Linked DNA regions of Homo sapiens: all the other regions are linked to region 3. The links are contacts of gene promoters, found by promoter capture Hi-C in blood cells and fetal thymus (Javierre and others, 2016). All regions are on one chromosome and are shown on one strand. Each heading gives the region's core, a stretch centred on a gene start or on the middle of the fragment in contact. The rest is flanking DNA. Distances are from core to core; before and after follow the strand shown.

Region 1 (3,268 bases), core at 342-2,841, 530 kb before region 3:
TCAGAGTTTATCTTGGACAATATTGGCTGAGTTCATAAGCCAAAGTCAGAAGCACCTGTCATCATCCTGTGGGGCTCTGCTTCTGGGTGGACTGTAGGAGAAGTCCTGAGAGGAGAATGGTCTGGGCAGCATTGCCAGAACTGGGCTACAAAACAAGATTGTAAAACCACTGAACAAGAGAACCCCCGATGGTGGTGCAGAATGTGTGGGGCCTGCACCCTCCAGCTTGCAAAGGCTTCTGTTCCCTGGACACCTGAGGCCTTCGCCCAACAGTAGTGTTGGGTTGGGTTGAAATATCCACATGCCGGCCGAGCGCAGTGGCTCATGCCTGTAATCCCAGCACTTTGGGAGGCCAAGGTGGGCGGATCACGAGATAAGGATATCGAGACCATCCTGGCTAACAAGGTGAAACCCCGTCTGTAGTAAAAATACAAAAAATGAGCCGGGCGTGGTGGCAGGCACCTGTAGTCCCAGCTACTCGGGAGGCTGAGGCAGGAGAACGGCGTGAACCTGGGAGGTGGAGCTTGCAGTGAGCCGAGATTGAGCCACTGCACTCCAGCCTGGGTGACAGAGTGAGACTCCATCTCAAAAAAAAAAAAAACAAAAAAAAAAACAAAACGGAAATATCAACATGCCATTGCTTTCAGTGATGGCACAGGTCCTGCCTTTCTAAGATGGTGAGAGGCTCGGGGGCAGGGAGGGGCAGAATACAGCTTGTAACCTGATGTCCATAAAGCTTTTTGGTCCTGGGGTGTTTTTTGCTGAGCATACTGACCGAATATGTGCATGACTGTAGGGATGGGGCATCTATGAGACGGAAGTAACCATGAGAACAGCTATTAAACAAATGAAAACAGGTCGGCCATTCACTGCAGAGTTCAACTGATGCCTTCCCGGAAATCTCATTTGAACCCCCAACTTGCTTTTATGAGTTTAATCCTCTTCATCCCCTCTCCTTAGCCAAGTTTCATTCCCATTTGTTTAATTACCAGTTGTATGAACAAGTCCTTCCATTTTCTCTTACTAGGTTTTACATTTTCATTCATTGACACATTATAAAAATTAAAGTTCTTTACTAGAGAGAGGTGAATTCTGCTTCAGAAGAGTGAGTTTTTATGGGGTGTCAAAATTTAATGTGGATAAGAATGCACCATGGAATCACCAGGGTGTCTGGTTAAAATGCCGATGTGGCTTCCATCGGTCTGGGAGGTGGCCTAGGATTTTACGTTTCCAAGAAGCTTCCAGGTGATGACAATGTTCCTGGTCCACAGACCACACGTCGAGGTGCAAGGTTGTAGAGAGCCTGTGAGACAAACCACATTAACCTGAAGACTAGAGACCAAATAGCCATTCAAGCAATGCATCTACACTCTAAACAGCCCTATGGGCAGGTAAGTACTGCAGCCTCATCCCCGTGGGGAGCCTGGACCAGCCTCACTCGGCTTCTCTTTCAAATGAGCCCATCTGTTGACAGGCTGCACCTGCATTCACATCTCTGCACCTGCATCTCTGCTCAGGTACATTTTTGTCCTAAATCCCTGAAGCCAGGCTTTGTAAAAAGCCTGAGCTGGCTAAAGAATTGCTAGGAAGAGGAGGCGAGATGGTGTGCCAGGGGCATAGCGAGGAACGGGGGACTGGTGGGCCATGCCGCGCAGTGCCTGGATGGCCATGGTTGCCGAGTTTTGAGTGCAGGAGTAATATAATCTGATTTTTACTTTAAGAGGTATTCTCTGACTTTCGTTAGAATGGACTGGAAAATGGGACGGGGGAATAGAAACCGGAAGGGGAGGTAAGTGGCTGTTGAAGTTCCAGGTGGGAGAAGGTGGCTGGACTGAGGAAGGCAGCAGCAGAGCTGAAGAAATGCATGTCTAGAACTTCCCTGTTTATACTCGGGCCTCTTGAGAACAGGGAATGTGCTTTACCCATTTGCCTGCCTTCTTCAGTCAAGCTTCATGAGTGGTAACACCCAGCAGCTGTAATTCTCTCAGTTCCCACTCGCATATTCATCTGCAGCAGCCTGGTTCTGCCCTGCAGTTCTATTGGAACTGCTCTGTCAGAGACCACCTGGGATCCTCACAGAGTAAAATAACCTCATTTAAAAATTCTGTCTCGCCACTTCTATTCAACATGGTATGGGGGTCCTAGCCGGTTTAATAAGTCATGCAAAAAACAAGGCATACACCTTGGAACAGAAGAAATAAAACCATTTTTTTGTGAACAATGTGATCATATATGTAGAAAATCCTAAGGAATTTTCAAAAAGCTACTAGAACTGATAAATGAATTCGACAGTGTCTCAGAATATAAGGTTAATATGTAGAAATCAATTGTATTCCTATATGCCGGCAAAGAACAACCCAAAAAATAAAACTTCAGAAATTCCATTGACAGTAGCATAAAAATATTTAGGAATAAATTTAATAAAAGATATTTTAGACTTATACACTGAAAACTACAACATATTGCTGAGAGAAATTAAAGAATACCTGAATAAACAGAGAGATATGCCATGTTATTGCTTGGAGGTCTCAATGTTTTTAATTAAAGATGGTAATTATTTTTAAATTAATCTATATATTTAATGAAATCACAATAAAAATCCCAGTAGACATTTTTGTAGGAATTGACAAGCTGATCCTAAAATTCATTTGAAAAGACAAATAACCTAGATTAAACAGAACAATTAAAAAAATTTTTTTTAATTGTGGTAAAATACACACGAAATTTACCAACTTAATAATTTTTAAGCTTACAGTTTAGCAATGTTAAGTATATTATCATTGGCCTGCAGCGAATCTCCAGAACTTCTCATCTTCCCAAACTATGTTTAATAAACTTCATTTTATTTTATTTTTTGAGACAGAGTCTTACTCTATTGCCCAGGCTGGAGTGCAGTGGCATGATCTCAGCTCACTGCAACATTCACTTCCCGGGCTCAAGCAATCCTCCCACCTCAGCCTCCTGAGTAGCTGGGACTACAGGCATGCACCATCATGCCCAGCTAATTTTTGTACTTTTTTGTAGAGACGGGGTTTTGCCATGTTGCCCAGGCTGGTCTCCTGGGCTCAAGGAATCCGCCTGCCTCCTGGGCTCAAGAGATCTGCAGAGATCTACCCACCTCAGCCTCCCAAAGCACTGGGATTATAGGTGTAAGCCACCACACCCAGCCTAAATTCAACATCCTTTAACTTCCCATTCCCCTCGACTCTCAACTCCTGGCAACCATCATTCTAATTTCTGTCTCTAAGGAAATGACAACTCTAGTTAC
Region 2 (3,138 bases), core at 254-2,753, 550 kb before region 3:
AAACTGCAGGGTCACGGAGGAACTGAGGCCGTTATTTCAAGTTCTGACCATGGGTAAAACACAAGACTTTGCTGATTTGAATATTAATCGATAACACTCCAGCTTCAGTTTAAATACAACTTGGGCCTCTGCATAAGTAAAAACTGAGCAGAGTTTTGCTCTTACCATGCTGTGATCCTGCCGTTATCTTCATCTGGCAGGGACTTCCTCTCCTGTTAAAACTTTTAAGCATTCCTTCTGTGCCGTATCTGTTACACAGAGCAATACATAATGGACTAGACAGGATTATTGGCCCAAATGACAAAACCAGATGTGATATGGAAGTTTTTTTCCTATAACCACACATACATCTTTGGCCTCACACAGCTGTTCATTGTAAATAGGAAGATTCACACAATGGGCGAGATGGGGTGCAAAACCCACCATCCACATTCCTTTAGGGGTAGGAAGTGGAGAAGGGGCATTCCTCAGGTCTTGTCTCCTGGCCCCAGCAGGTGTGAGCTGTTGCCTACAGGATGTGATCTGCAGATTGTGAAGGGGCCACCTTCTAGAGGACAGCATGGTAGCAAAAACCTCTTGGGATGGGAACCTGGGCCCCAGTGCTGCCGTTTCATGTCCCGAGATTTGGGACAAGTCGTGTCAGCACTCCAAGCCTCAGTGTGCTTCATCCATGCAGTGGGGATGAGAGAGTCCTTGTCCTAAAAATGTCTTTCTCAGGTTTTTAAAGTTAGGATTATGTTGGCCTCATAAAATGAGATGGGAAATGGTCATTTCTTTTCTTTTTTTCTGAGAGCTTCTGTAAAATGGGTCTATAAGTATGTGATAGAAGTCACCAGTGAGACCATCTGGGTCTGAAGCTTTCTTTGTGGGAATGTTTTTGAATAAGATGATGAATTGAAATTTTTGAATAGAAATTGGGCTGCTTAGATTTTCTGTTTCTTGTTGAGTCAGCATTGGTAAGTTATGTTTTTTGAGACATATGTTCCTTGAAATAAATTATTGACTTTGTTGACAGAGTTCATAGTATTCTTTTATTATCCTTTTAGTGTCTGTAGGATCTATAGGATATCCCTTCTTTCATCCTTGAAATAAGTCATTTATGTTTACTTTATTTTTTTCTTGATTAATTCATAAGGATTTGTAAAGTTTATTAATCTTGTCAAAGAATAAAGCGTGGCTTTGCCAATTGTTTCTATTTGGAGTATGGTTTTTATTTCATTGCTTTCTGGTCTTTCATTTATTTCTTTTTTCTTATGTTCATACTTTTTTTCTCCGTTTTAGATTTAATGTGTTATTTTTCCAGCTTTCTAAGGTAGATACTTAGATCATTGATTTTAAACCTTTCTTCTTTTTAATATAAGCATTTAAGCTATAAATTACCATCTAAGCAATGCTTTAGTTGCATACCATACATTTTGGTATGTTGTATATTCATTATCAGTCAGTTTAAAATATTTTCTTTTTTCTTTCTTTCTTTTTTTTTTTTTTTTTAAGACACAGTCTCCCTCTGTTGCCCAGGCTGGAGTGCAGTGGCACAGTCTTGGCTCACTCAGCCTCTACCTCCCAGGTTCAAGTGATTCTTATGCCTCAGCCACCCAAATAGCTGGCATTACAGGCGTGCTCCACCAAGCCTGGCCAATTTTTGTGTTTTTAGTAGAGACCGGGTTTCACCATGTTGGTCAGGCTGGTCTCAAACTCTTGGCCTCAAGTGATCCGCCCACCTCGGCCTCCCAAAGTGCTTGGATTACAGGTGTGAGCCACCACGCCTGGCCTCAAAATATTTTCTAACTTCCCTTTTAATTAATTCTTTGACCCAGGTCCAAGTTCGAAGCATGTTATTTAATTTCTAAATATTTGGAGGATTTTCTAGGTATCTTATTGTAATTGGCTTGTAGCTTAGTTTTGTTTGCTGGAAGAATACATTCTGTAATACTTCAATTATTGGAAACATTTTGAGATATATTTTGGGCCTCAGCAAATGTTTGATCTCAGTCAATGTTCTATTTGCAGCTGAAAATCATGTGTATTTATACTTATTGGGTGTGGAAAGTTCTATAAATATCAATTAAGTTGTGTTGTTTGGATCTATATCTTTACTGTTTACTTTTTTGTATACTTGTCCTATTAATTACTAAGAGAGGGATTCATAGCAAGCTTTTTAAAGCATAAATCAGAATATGGCCTTCCCAGTGTAAATTCCTCAAAGTCATCTTAGTGCATTTAGAATAAAATCTAATCTAGCCTGGGCAACATGGCAAAACCCTGTCTCTACAAAAAATACAAAAAAAAATTAACCAGGCAGGGTGGTGCACGCCTGTGGTCCCAGCTACTCGGGAGGGTGAGGTGGGAGGCAGAGGTTGCAGTGAGCTGAGATCACGCTACTGCACTCCAGCCTGGGTGACAGAGTGAGAGACTGCGTCAAAAGAAAAAAAAAAAAAAGGAATAAAATAGAATCTTGCCCTGACCTGTAAGAGACTATATAATTCATTTCACGTCCTTCCCTCAGATCTCCTCTTCTAGGACACCAGCCACCTCCCCACCCTAAACACTAATTATACACCAGTCACTCTGGCTTTTTCTCTGTTCTCTTAACCCACTAAATCTATTCCTCAGGACTTTTGCATTTGCTATTGCTGTTCCCTTAGCGTGGGCTTATATCTTCACCCAGATGATCGCACAGCTACCTCCTTCACACCCCTTAAACCCAAATGTCATTGCCCCAGAGATACCTCCCAGGACCTCTCTATCTGGAGCATTCTTTATCACATCACCCTGAATTATTCTCTTTCAATAATTTTTAACTATTAAAATTAACCCCTTTTATTAATTTTTTTGTGTTTATGGTTTGTATGTTAGTTGTGTTCAATGCTCCATTTCTAAAGCTGAGAATAGAGCTGGCTTGTAGTGGATATTCAATAAATACTTGTTGTATGATTGGATCATGGTTGGAAGGATGGGTGGATAGACTATCAGTATCTAACGCCATTCAATATTATCTGTCTTGTTTCATAACTGTCTCCATTTAGGTGTTATGACTGGGCTGTGAGGTCTTTGAAAACAGGAACTCATTCTACTTTATCTCTATCTCTATGTCTCTGACACAGCAGAGCAATTGCCCAGTAAATAATTGTTGGACAA
Region 3 (3,103 bases), core at 495-2,994:
CTGGCAGTGATGTTGCAAAGGCCCGAGGGAGCTTGTCTATCCTCTGTGTTAGCTTCTGGAAGAGAAGACAGCTGACAGGTTGAACTAAGAGGCCGTTGTGAACTGGGCACTATGCGACCCTCCCAATTTATACCCACCCTCCCAGTCCAGTGCAAGTCACACTTCCCCCATGAAGCCTTCCTGACTACCCTCTTCTTTTTTTTTTTTTTTTTTTTTTTTTTTTTTTTTTTTTTTTGAGACAGAGTTTCACTCTTGTTTCCCAGGCTGGAGTGCAGTGACGCCATCTCTGCTCACTGCAACCTCTGCCTCCCGGGTTCAAGCGATTCTCCTGCCTCAGCCTCCCGAGTAGTTGGGATTACAGGCGCCTGCCACCACATCTGGCTAATTTTTGTATTTTTAGTAGAGATGGGGTTTCACTGTGTTGGCCAGGCTGGTCTCGAACTCCTGACCTCAGGTGATCCGCCTGCCTCGGCCTCCCAAAGTGCTGGGATTACAGGCGTGAGCCACCGCGCTCGGCCCTTTCTTGGGTCCTCGGATCCCTCTTGTACTGTGTTGAATGTTTGGGCTCTTCCGCTCTGTTTTCTAGTCAGTTGCACCCACCCGACTGAGCCCGTGGTACTGCAGTCTTGCTGTGGTGTCTCTGCAAGCAGCTCTGCACCCCAGCACCTGGCTCGGGGCCAGGCACTGAGAAGGCAGTCAGGCCCTGTGTGCTGAATTGAAGGAATGTGTTTGTGGCTTTCAGTGACTTCGCATCTCAGGCCTTACTCTCATCCTGCTTAGTAGCAGGGGAAAGCACTTTAGCTCCGCCAGTGCCCCCAGCTGGGATCAGATTCTGACGCCATCACCTACTAGCGGTGTGGGCTTGTGCAAATCACTCCAACTCTCTAAGCCTCAGGTTTTCCAGACTTAATTATCACCTCTGCCCTCAGAGTTCAAATTAGCACTCCATTGGATGATAAATAGGCTAAATAAGATAGTAAATAGAAAGCCCTTAACACAGCGCCTGGCACATACTGAATGTTCAATAAAAGGTGGCCCCCTGCAGGTTTATTTCACCACAAACTTTATTATATGAGCCAGCACGCTTCTGGGAAGGAAACCAGGAGCTAGTCATCCTTGGGCCTGAGCTGGGTGCTGTGGCATGCGCTTGTAATCCCAGCTACTCAGCAGGCTGAGTGGGAGGATCGCTTGAAGCCAGGAGTTCAAGACCAGCCTGAGCAACATAACAAGACCCCCATCTCAAAAAACAATAATTATATTAATAAATAATTAATAATATTTAGTATTAATATAGGATTAATAAGTAATTAGTAATACTATTTATTATTATTATGCCAAGATGACAAGTATAAACTAGGCAGAACCAGGCCAACCTGGACATCTGGTCACCCTGCTTATCCTCTACTCACTACCAGCCTTGTAGGCCAGGACTGGCAGATCTTCATCTCACAAACCCCCGCCCCACCTTCCTCCTGCCTCTTCCCAGCAGCGCCCTAGCTGAGCACCTCAGGGACTTCTCCTCCCGGGGCAGGGGCCCCCCAGAACCGCAGCCTGCCTGGAGCTGCGGAATGCTCTGAAACGGGGGAGATCGCAAGTTCCCGTTCCTGCCCCCACGTCCCTGCAGACCCTGGAGCCCTTCAGCGACCCCGGGAGCCTACCGTGAGGGCCGAGCGGGTGGCGCCGGGCTGCCCTGTCTTCCTCAGGAGCAGAGAGGAGTCTGGTGTGGCCTGTGGTCAGCTCAATCCAGCCCCAGCGCTGATCAAAGTTCCAGGCAGTGGTTCCTCCCCTCACGTGGCCCCAGCGTCCCAGAATGTCACCAGGGTCACAGGACGGGAGAGGGCCTTGGCAAGGCCTCTGAAGATTACAAAATGACCCTGAACTCCTCCCATGTACAGAGCCCTGCCGGGGCCAAAATCCCACCGAGGTTGCAGGGTTGGCACCTTCAGGACCCCGAGGACACTCAGAAAGCTCTAGAGATTCCCGCAGGCGGCTGGGTTGGTGAGGCCTGGGATGGGGTCCACGCTCACACCCATACCTGTGAGCAGAGGCAGAGGGACTGGGAGCCTGCCTTCAGCCTCAGGCCCCTGCTGGGCTCTCAGCGCCCGGAGGCATTTCAAGAGGGCTGTGGATTTGTTGTTTTGTCTTGTTGTGTTTGTTTGCTTGTTTAATGAATGAACTTTCTAAACCCTTCCTGAATTAGAAGGGGGAAAAGCTATAGGGAGATGAATTGGGGCCCAATATGGAGAGGAGCGCTCACACACTCAGGGCTGGCCGAGGACGAAAGATGCTGCTTTGGAAGGGAGGGATTTTCCCATCTCCGGAGGTGTGGAACCAGGGCTGCAAGACACACGGAGTGTGTGTGTGCTGAGTGCGTGCATCTGGGGGTGTGCATGTAAGTGGGTGTAAATGTGAGTGGCTGTAGGGGGTGTGTGGTGAGTGCATGTGTGGGGGTGTGTTGTGTGTGTAAGTGGGTGTATGTGTGAGTGGGTGTGTGCGCGCGTGGGTAGGGTGTGTGTGTGGTGAGTGCGTGTGTGGGTGCGTGTGTGGGTGTATGTGTGAGTGGGTGTAGGGGTGTGTGTGGTGAGTGCGTGTGTGGGGGTGTGGTATGTAAAGAGGGTGTATATGTGAGTGGGCGTGTGTATGTGAGTGTAGGAGTGTGTGTGGTGAGAGCACATGTGTGATGTGTGTGTAAGTGGGTGTATGTGTGAGTGGGTGTAAAGGTGTGTGTGGTGAGTGCGTGTGTAAGTGGGTGTAGGGGAGTGTTTGGTGAGTGCATGCGTGTGGGTGTGGGGTGTGTGTGTGTAAATGGGTATATGTGTGAATGGGTGTAGCGGTGTGTGTGGTGAGTGCGTGTGTAAGTGGGTGTATGTGTGAATGGGTATGTAAGTGGGTGTAGGGGAGTGTTTGGTGAGTGCGTGCGTGTGGGTGTGGGGGGTGTGAGTGGGTATATGTGTGAATGGGTGTAGGGGTGTGTGTGGTGAGTGCGTGTGTGTAGGTGTGCAGTGTGTGTAAGTGGGTGTATGTGTGAGTGGGTGTGTGTAAGTGGGTGTAGGGGTGTGTGTGGTATAAGTGGGTGTGTATATGCATGAGTATGTCTCGTGTG

What was found. Contacts are between HindIII fragments. The CHiCAGO score rates a contact against its expected background, and 5 or more counts as called.
Region 1: a fragment that was not itself captured here is called in contact with the fragment with the promoter of CPN2 in region 3 in 1 of 17 cell types (M0 macrophages); the score reaches 5.7 in M0 macrophages.
Region 2: a contact is called between a fragment that was not itself captured here and the fragment with the promoter of CPN2 in region 3, in 7 of 17 cell types (M1 macrophages, M2 macrophages, naive B cells and 4 more). The highest score is 9.6, in M1 macrophages.

What each region holds. Positions count from the first base shown.
Region 1 is chr3:193,817,868-193,821,135 of GRCh38, forward strand. No RefSeq gene overlaps it. Among named protein-coding and RNA genes, the nearest start is that of LINC02038, 25 kb to the right of the region's middle. RefSeq lists enhancers at 936-1,564, 1,565-2,192. The HindIII fragment of the contact is 710 bases long and covers 1,237-1,946 here.
Region 2 is chr3:193,800,350-193,803,487 of GRCh38, forward strand. No RefSeq gene overlaps it. Among named protein-coding and RNA genes, the nearest start is that of LINC02038, 42 kb to the right of the region's middle. The HindIII fragment of the contact is 1,297 bases long and covers 856-2,152 here.
Region 3 is chr3:194,349,584-194,352,686 of GRCh38, forward strand. It overlaps CPN2 (carboxypeptidase N subunit 2), which reads right to left and starts at 1,745. Exons shown (of 2, transcript NM_001080513.4): 1 at 1,659-1,745. RefSeq lists an enhancer at 1,221-2,070. The HindIII fragment of the contact is 6,903 bases long and covers 1-3,103 here.